Linked DNA regions of Homo sapiens: region 2 is linked to region 1. The links are contacts of gene promoters, found by promoter capture Hi-C in blood cells and fetal thymus (Javierre and others, 2016). All regions are on one chromosome and are shown on one strand. Each heading gives the region's core, a stretch centred on a gene start or on the middle of the fragment in contact. The rest is flanking DNA. Distances are from core to core; before and after follow the strand shown. Region 1 holds the start of CFAP54 (cilia and flagella associated protein 54). Region 2 overlaps CDK17 (cyclin dependent kinase 17).

Region 1 (4,790 bases), core at 562-3,061:
GCCCAGTGATTATTTCTCTAGGACTACATTCTTTAAAGCCTTACAATTTTTGTTGTTCACTTAGAGAACAAGATAAAATCTTTGTTGATCAAAGGATGATATCTACATCCTGATTAGAGAATTGGACTCCTACAGTGAGGTGTCATTGCGTCTCACTGCTTGCCAGGAAGTTTCTCTGGCTATAATTAACTGTGCCGATGAGCAAAATTATTTTCCTTCAAAGAATATTAGGGTACAGTAGACATGACATATTAGGCCAGCCTCACAAATTAGCACAGGCCCACAGAGCCTGCATAAAATTAGGTCAGACTTGAAAGATATCAGGCTGTGGTCCAATAAGCTTCTTAGTCTGAAATGGAAAATTGGGTTCACAGGGTGTTAGGGTCACTGTCTTTATTTAAGTGTGATAGAACTGGTAACAATTTTCAGGGTTAAAGACTGATTTTTCTAAGCCACCAAATATTTCTGGTTCTTCTCTTAGATAATTTATTGTGTTGCATAATTTATAGAAAAGAAGGTTCTCCATTTTCTCAATACTCATACTTTAATAAATTTAACTCTGACTTTTGCCTATAATACACAGGCTAAGAATAAACTCCCCAAGTATTTCCCTGGAGGTCTGTAGTTTCCCCATCAGAAGTAAAGTCTCCTAAAAGCCCTGTTTAAAATGCAAAGTATTTTGAGAGTTAACACTTCAGGCCACTAGTATGTATTAATGTCCTATGGTTAAGGTTGAGCAAAATGCACATTAATTTAGAATACAGAGATAATTAAAGTAAGGCTGGAATGTGCATAAATAGATGTAATCATAATTATTAGAGGCATAGACATCATGTCCACAGTTACAGACCTCAAGGTACAAATAGAGGAAAGAGAATGGATCAGCTGCATATTCAGTACTCCCTGGCTATCTGTGGGGGACTAGTTCCATGACACCCGCAGATACCAAAATCTGTGGATGCTCAAGCCTCTGATATGAAATGCTGTAGTATTTGCATATAATTTGTGCACATCCTTCAGGATGTTTTAAATCATCTCTAGATAACTAGTAATACCTAATACAGTATAAATGCCATGTAAATAGTTGTATTTTGTGTTATTTTTATTGTTGTATTGTTATTTCTAATTTTGTTCTGAATATTTACAATCTGGAGTTGCTTGAATCCACAGATGAAGAACCCGAGATTTGGAGGGCCAACTGTATTTGATTCTTAAACTGCTTGTCAGATATTTCTCTAATTTCAATTTGATTAATAAGCTTTGTTTTGGGGAGTGATCAATACAGCCTATTCATTTTGAGCACAGGCTTTGGAGTCACAAGTTCCCTTTGGAGGACCTGGTCGCTGACACTACGGTTGTACGCTGACTTTTGTCAAATGACTTAACCTCCTTGAGCTTTGGTTTCCTAAACTGTGAGATGGATATACTAATAGTATCCTAAGTTGTAAAGTAGTTATGATGATTAAATGAGATAAATGAAAGTACATGTTTCAAATGCTTAATGCCTGACACACGTTAATGGTCATGGTCGTCATCATTATCGTTATTAAGTGGCCAACATGGATAAAGAGTATAGTCTGGATTTGTGACCTTAAATTTTTGGCTCTAATATTCGCCAGCGCTCTGCTCAGAACATTCTCTGTTCGCATTTCATACAGCGGTGCCAGCGCACAACCAGGCAACGCCCTCAGGAGCATCATTGTTTTCTGGACCTGGTTCTTTCTCGCTCTGCCCTCCAGGGGCCGCTGTGTTTCTCGGAATGCGCGCGGGATGCCCGGTTGCCACGAGACCGTCGCCAGGCAACCGCGTGTACACATACTCCAGGCGGGCCGGGGCGCGTCAATATGGCGGCGCAGGGCTCCCCCTCGAGCTCTCCGTCAGACGACTCTACCACCTCGGGGTCTCTGCCAGAACTGCCGCCGACCTCCACCGCGACTTCGAGGTCGCCCCCAGAGTCGAAGGGGAGCTCCCGGAGCTCGCTGCTTCAGTGGACCTGCCCCGAGGACTCATTGCCCCTAGCCGTGTTTTATGGGCCGCTGGACGCGAAAAACCCGCTCCTGGCCTCTTGTGAGAAGGAGATCCAGGAGTTGTTAGGCTTTATGAGGAAAAAGAAGGCTTTAGCCACCACGGAGGAAGAGAAGCACGAATTCCGCCGGCGTTGGTAAGCGCTGGCGGGGCACTGGGGAGGGCGCCGGCCAGAGGAGGGACCCCTGGAAAGGGCTGGAGGATGCAGGTGGTGGCCCCAGAGATGGTTCAGCGTTGCGGACGCAGGGGCTGGCTGAAGGGCCCAGGAGAGACAAAGTTTAAGAAGTGGAGACTCGTCGCTCTTAACAATCCTTAATTCCTGGGAGCTGTTATATCTTGGCTTCCTGCTCAGGTCAAAATAAAAATCTACACAGAAATGTTTCATAACTCACCATTTGTTATTTGACCAGAAAAGAAAGATGGTAACATAAGCAGGAAAGAACCTTAAAAAGAGTTCGCAGTTTGCAGTAATAACATGGTGATAGAACTCCCAAAAAGGCAAACAGTTGCGCAGAATGAATAGCAAAATTAAGAAAAAGTCACTGTAATCCTAATAGCAATATAAGAAGGAATTAAAGTGCACATGTTCACAGGATGACATACTTCATTGTATCAAGAGCTAGCTTCATGAACCTGAGCTACCTCGAAGTTATTCCTTTTTCTCCATATACAAATTTATATACTCATAACATGGAAAGTTGTGAAACCCTTGAGCGAGCCAAAAATTTATACATGAATACAAAATACGAAAATTAGCTGGGCATGGTGGCACATGCCTGTACTCCCAGCTACTCAGGAGGCTGAGGCAGGAGAATTGCTTGAACCCGGGAGGCAGAGGTTGCAGTGAGCTGGGATCGCGCCACTACACTCCAGCCTGGGCGACAGAGCAAGACTCCTTCTCAAAAAATAATAATAATAAATAAATAAAATAAAATATTTTTTATTTATGCATATAACAACTATTTATTGAGCACATACTGTATATCAAGTGCTGTTCAAGGAACTAGGAAAACATCAAGTTAACAAAACATATAAGAATCCATGTCCTTATAGAGCATATGTTTTTGTGGGTATAAACAACCACTAAACAAATATGTAAGTAAATAATCTTACAAGGAGATGACTGCTAGGGAGAAAAATAGAACAGGGAATGGTGTTGGAGGATATGAGATGAATGTTGCAATTTTATCTTTTTTTTTTGAGACAGGGTCTCACTCTTGCACAGGCTGTTGTGCAGTGGCTCAATCCTGGCTCACTGAAACCTTGAACTTGGGGGCTCAAGGGATCCTCCCACCTTGACCTCCCAAAGTATTGGATTACAGGCATGAGCTACTGCGCCTGGCCTGAGTGTTGCAATTTTAAATGGGGTGGTGAGAAGCCTGGTTAGGGAAGGTCAGGAAAAGTTGCTTTTGAGAAAGATGAGAAAGATATGGGAGCAATTGATGAGGATTTTTGTGCAAAAAGTAGGTCACACAGGGAGAATGGCAGATGGGAAAGACCTGGGGTGGAATTGTATTGTGGGAAGAGCAAGAGGGAGGGAGATCAAGAGTTTACTTTTATAAAAATTGAGATGTGATTCAGCATCCAGGTGGAGCTACTATGTAGGTAGTTGGACATTTGAATCTGGAAGTCAGATGAGATATACATTTGGGATTCATATGATATTTAAATGATGACACTTGATGAATAGCTAAGGGAGTGTGTGTGTAAATGGAGAAGGGAAGAGTCCAAGGATTGAGCCCTGGGATGCTCCAGCATGGACAGGGAGAGGCAATAAGAAGAAACCAACAGAGACTAAGGAGGAGGGGCCAGTGGAAAACCATTAAGTGCCTGGTGTACTAGAAGCAGGTAGAGAAAGTATTTCAGGAAGAAAGGAATGATCAACTGTGGCAAATTCTGCTGACTGGCCAAGTAAGATGAGAACCAAGAATTGACCAAGGAAAGCCCATTATATACCTACTCTATATGCTTTATTTATTTATTTATTGATAGGGAGTCTCACTCTGTACCCCAGGCTGGAGTGTACTGCTGCGATCTCAGCTTACTGCAACCTCTGCCTCCCAGGTTTAAGCGATTCTTGTGCCTCAGCCTTCTGAGTAGCTGGGACTACAGGTGCCTGCTACCACGCCCGGCTAATTTTTGTATTTTTAGTAGAGATGGGGTTTCGCCATGTTGGCCAGGCTGGTCTCAAACTCCTGACCTCAGGTGATCCACCCGCCTTGGCCTCCAAGATTGCTGAGGTTACAGGCATGAGCCACCTTGCCCGGCTTATACATTTATATTTAAATGGTTTTTATCTTTGAACTTCATCTCCCCATCTCCACTACCAGCGTTCCAGTCCAAACCACCACCATTTCACATTTTCCCTGCAGCCACTCTGTCTCCAATCTATCCTTCACCTAGCAGTCAGGATGATCTTTACAAATCTTATCTAAAGTCTTTCTATTGCTTCCCATTGCTTTTGGAATAAACTTAAGAATTCTGATACTCTCCAGGGGCTGAGGTGTTGACCCTGCCTGCCTTTCTGAGCTCAGCTCATCCCTCACTTCTCTCTCAGGACTTTCCAGAGAAACAGGTCCTACTGTTTCTCACCCCAGAGCCTTTATATTTGCCATCTTTGTTGTCTGAATGTTCTTCCCCAAGCTTTTCAAAAATCTGGCTCCTTTTTTCAGGCCTCAGCTCAGTTGTCACCTCCTTAGAGTGGCCTTTCCTATCGAATGCAGATTCACTCATAGGTTTATATTTTTTAATCGATTTGTTTTCTT
Region 2 (4,666 bases), core at 783-3,282, 110 kb before region 1:
AAACATATGAAAAAATGTCCAATGTCATTGATAATGAGAAAAATACAATAACCTGAGTTAAACCAGTTCTCATCTATCAAATGCAAAACTCAAAAAGTCTGACAACACATTCAGTTGCTGAGGTTATGGGAAACAGGCCTGTTGCACATTTAGGTGGTAGTACAAAATGGCAATCTGGCAGCATCAGAATTACAGAAGCAGTTTTTTTTTTTCGTTTTTTTTTTTTTTTTGAGATGGAGTCTCGCTCTGTCGCCCAGGCTGGAGTGCAGTGGTGCGATCTCGGCTCACTGCAAGCTCCCCCTCCCGGGTTCACGCCATTCTCCTGCCTCAGCCTCCCAAGTAGCTGAGACTACAGGCGCCCGCCACTACGCCCAGCTAATTTTTTGTATTTTTAGTAGAGACAGGGTTTCACCGTGTTAGCCAGGATGGTCTTGATCTCCTGACCTCGTGATCCGCCCACCTTGGCCTCCCAAAGTGCTGGGATTACAGGCGTGAGCCACTGCGCCCGGCCCAGAAGCAGTTTTTTAAAAGTGAACTTTTAGTATCGTTTTAGATTTACAGAAAAATAGTAAAGAGTTCCCTTAAACCACACACTCAGTTTCCGCTAGTAAGATCTTACATTAGTATGGTACTTATTGGCAGGAAGTCACCTCATGTAGCTCACACTTGAAAGGTGGGGAGTTGTATTATACTTCCTTGAGGGCTGTGTATCTAATTATGCACAGATTTGTCTATTCTTCCCCCATTTATTTATTTAGTCAGTCATTTACTTCTATCAGCATGAACTCATGGATATTATTTTATACTTTGGGTTATAATTCAATATTACTTTTTTGTTGCTCAAATTATTCCAGTATTGGCTACTGGGAACTCTTTCAGTTGGCTGTGTCCCTTTGACATAACTCATTCGTGTTTTTGTTTGAATAGTTCCTTCCTTTCCAGCACTACAAGATACTCCAGGTTGATCTTACAGTTTTATTAGCTGCCCCAGTCCTAGAATCAGCCATTTCTCCACAAAGGCCTGGTTCCTTTTACTGGAGAATGGTGTTAGAAACCAAGATCTGGGCACCAGGTGTGCTCACTGCTACAGGGATATTGTTGCTTCTAGGTTCTCTCAGCTGACAGTGGAAGAAAATACTTGACCTAAAGATCTACAATTGCTTGTTCAAATAGAAAATGTTACATGTATATTGTTATTCATTTGGCATTGTAACAGCAAAAAATAGAAAACAACCCAAATAGCCACAAAGGATTGAGTGACTAAACTACGGTACATCTACATAAGAAAATACTATGAAGCTATTAAAAATAAAGATCTTTATCTAGATATGGAAAGATCTCCAGAATAAAATACACATTTGTTTGTAACTACAAAAGGAAAACACTGGAAGGATAAACAGGATACCAAAAAGTGTGGAAGGAAAATAAAGTAGCAAGCAAAGGAAGAAATAAGACTTCGTGTACATCTTTCTACATACTTGAGTTTTATCTATCCCAAAAAAATAAGTTTAATTTTAAAAAGAACTTAAAATGGTTATAATAGTGGAAGAATCTGAAGGTTCAAATACTAAGAAAGAAAAAGATATTAATTTCTGAAGCATAAATACATACTATGAGACAGAGTAGCTCAAACCTAGGGACAATTATGTACCAAAAAAATCTAAATTTAGTAAAATGGAGGTATTTCAAGTCAAACTCAGTTGAATTTAAAGTGCTGAAATGCAGTACAGCTGCTAAAATTAACATATTATCAGAACCTGTATGTAAGTTTACTGAATTACTGTTAAATGGAAAGTGATTTATGATCACCTATATTAGCAGGGAGATAAAGGCTAAAGAAATGCAGAACAATTTATAGAAACAATTAATGTTTATATTCTTGATTATAAGATATGCTGATATTTATAGTTAAACAAAAGCATCTATCATTTCTATATTTTTTAAATCTAATTTTTTTTTTTGAGACAGGGTCTCAAGTCTGTCCCCCAGGCTGGAGTGCAGTGCCATCATAGCTCACTGCAACCTCAAATTCCTGGGATTAAGCAATCCTTCCACAGGTTGAGCTTCTTGAGTAACTAGGACTGCAGGCACACATTACTATGCCTGGCTAATTTCTTAAACATTTTTTGTAGAGACGGGGATCTCACTATGTTGCCCAGGCTGGTCTCAAACTCCTGGGCTCAAGCAATCCTTTCACCTTGGCTTCCCAAATTTGCAGGAATTACAGCCATCAGCCACCGTGTCCAGAAGTAAATCTACTATTTATATCTCTTATTTCCCCAAACAAAATGGTGAAACCAATTTCTAACATATCGAAACATTTCCTCATCGGAAGATAAAAATGGCAGAGTTTCTAAATTAAACACACATTTCCAAGTGCTCCTAAGAGACAGTAAAACAATTCTCCCTGGGCGCTGTAGCTAACATCTTTAATCCCAGCACTTTGAAAGGCCAAGGCAGGAGGATCGCTTGAGCCAAGGAGTTTGAAACCAGCCTGGGCAACACAGTGAGACCCCATCTCTACAAAAAATACAAAAATTAGCTGTGCATGGTGGCACACACCTGTAGTCCCAGCTACTATGGAGGCTGAGGTGGGAGGATCACCTGAACCCAGGAGGTTGAGCCTGCAGTGAGCCATGATAGCACCAATGCACCCTAGCCTGAGAGACAGAGGCAGACTCTGTCCCCCGACCAAAAAAAAAACAAAAAAAAAACCCAAAAAAGAAAAACCAGTAATTCTCATGTCTCTGAGGTGAACCAAAAAATTACCCAAAAAAGGCACAAGTAGCTCTTTTTAGCTGGTTTTTTTTTTTTTTTTTGAGACAAAGTCTTCCCTGTTGCCCAGGCTAGAGTGCAATGGTGCGATCTCAGCTCACTGCAACCTCCGCCTCCTGGGTTCATATAATTCTCTGCCTCAGCCTCCCGAGTAGCTGGGATTACAGGCGCCCAAGCATCCACCACCACGCCCGGCTAATTTTTGTATTTTTAGTAGAGAGACGGGGTTTCGCCATCTTGGCCAGACTGGTCTTGAACTCCTGACCTCGTGATCCACCCGCCTCAGCCTCCTAAAGTGCTGGGATTACAGGCGTGAGACACTGTGCCCGGCCATTTTTTAGCATTTTCAATATTGTAAAGCAACCCTTTGAGAGTACTTCTGAAGCACCAACATCACAAAAGGTTGTCCATTTAACTTGCAGAAGTTCATCTGTAATTGTACACAACTTTCCCAATGGCTTCACTATAGAAAACAATGATATTCTGCCTAAAAAGTGTTCAACAGCCTCCTTACTGGAATATCTCCCTCTTTGACCTCATTTCCTGCCACTACCTCTATGAGCAACCTTTATCTCTATTTCTATCACATGGAAATACTCATTAGGCTGGTAGAGAATAACATTTTTAAAGGAATATAAATTTTTTTCATATCCCTTTTTTACATGTTCTTTTATCCTACCTAGGAAGTGGTTCTCTTCTCTCATCTCTCTATTTGTAAAGCTAATTACCTTTAGTGTCAGTTCATCTGAGACATCTACTTAATACCCTCAGCTAAATGTCACTCTTTCCTCGTCATGTTAATCCTAAATTCATCTTTAACCATAAGTTCATCTTTGGTAATAACACAAATAAACTAATACACTCTATCATAAACCACATAACCTTTTATCAAGATGCTCTCTAAGCCTTCTGAGGACATTCCAAGACAGTATACAGTCCTATGGTCTCCTTGGAAATCCATATAGATAACATTTCAAGGGCGATACCTTGTTGGTTTTGACTGGATATTCATATAAACTTTTCAAAGAGATGAGTGATACAACTAACCCTTATCTGTAAGTTTTGAGTTTACATTGTTTCATCCCATGTACAAAACCATTTTTTCCTACAAAAAAAAAAAAAAAAGATGCTCTTTACAGTGTACAACCTAGACAACGGGTAACAGGAAGTCTATTTCAATTACGGAGGCAACTCTTATAGATATACTGACATACCTACAGTTCAAATTTTATAGCAGGGAGACCAGTTTTGAAGAAAAAAATAGAGACTTCTAGTGAGCTGAAAGGATCATCCGCAATTTTCCTCCCATAAACTCTACTACTGTCCATAGATCTACATTTTTTTGCCTGCCATTTACTAAAGTAGAATTAAAAATACATATATAAGAATATCAAAATTATTAGAAAAAAATTAAGTGTTTTGCCACACTAGATATTAAAATATATTACAAAGCATTGAAAAATAAGCTGGAATGAATATAAAAAGAGATGGATCACCAAAACAACTTATCTAGTTTTTTTTATTATATAACAACTTGATAAAAACCAAATATCAGAAAAAATTAAAAAAAGAAGATGCCAGGATTCAGGGAGCAGTCAAAGTCTCCTCCTTAGCAATCCGTGGGGATAATGGGGGTGGGAGGAGGACCAACATCCCAGAAATCAAAGAAATGCAAATATAATTATATTTTTCTAAAACCAATGATCAAAAGCAAACATTTTAGATAATTATATCACTAAAAACAGATGTGGCACATTATTCGTGGTACTGGTACAACAGAGATATCAGAAAAGGGTTCACAGACTTTGGTTTGGGAATTCCACTTCTAGACATCTATCTACCCTAAGGAAATGCAAAATGGTGTGGGCGGGTGGGAAAGGGATATCGCATG

What was found. Contacts are between HindIII fragments. The CHiCAGO score rates a contact against its expected background, and 5 or more counts as called.
Region 2: a contact is called between a fragment that was not itself captured here and the fragment with the promoter of CFAP54 in region 1, in 3 of 17 cell types (neutrophils, total CD8 T cells and endothelial precursors). The highest score is 6.4, in neutrophils.

Annotation. Positions count from the first base shown.
Region 1 is chr12:96,487,766-96,492,555 of GRCh38, forward strand. CFAP54 (cilia and flagella associated protein 54) reads left to right here and starts at 1,812. Exons shown (of 68, transcript NM_001306084.2): 1 at 1,812-2,161. The coding sequence starts at 1,845. RefSeq lists a silencer at 1,666-1,960 and an enhancer at 1,851-2,060. The HindIII fragment of the contact is 3,410 bases long and covers 1,257-4,666 here.
Region 2 is chr12:96,377,482-96,382,147 of GRCh38, forward strand. All of the region lies in intron 1 of CDK17 (cyclin dependent kinase 17), which reads right to left. Among named protein-coding and RNA genes, the nearest start is that of CDK17, 21 kb to the right of the region's middle. The HindIII fragment of the contact is 6,318 bases long and covers 1-4,666 here.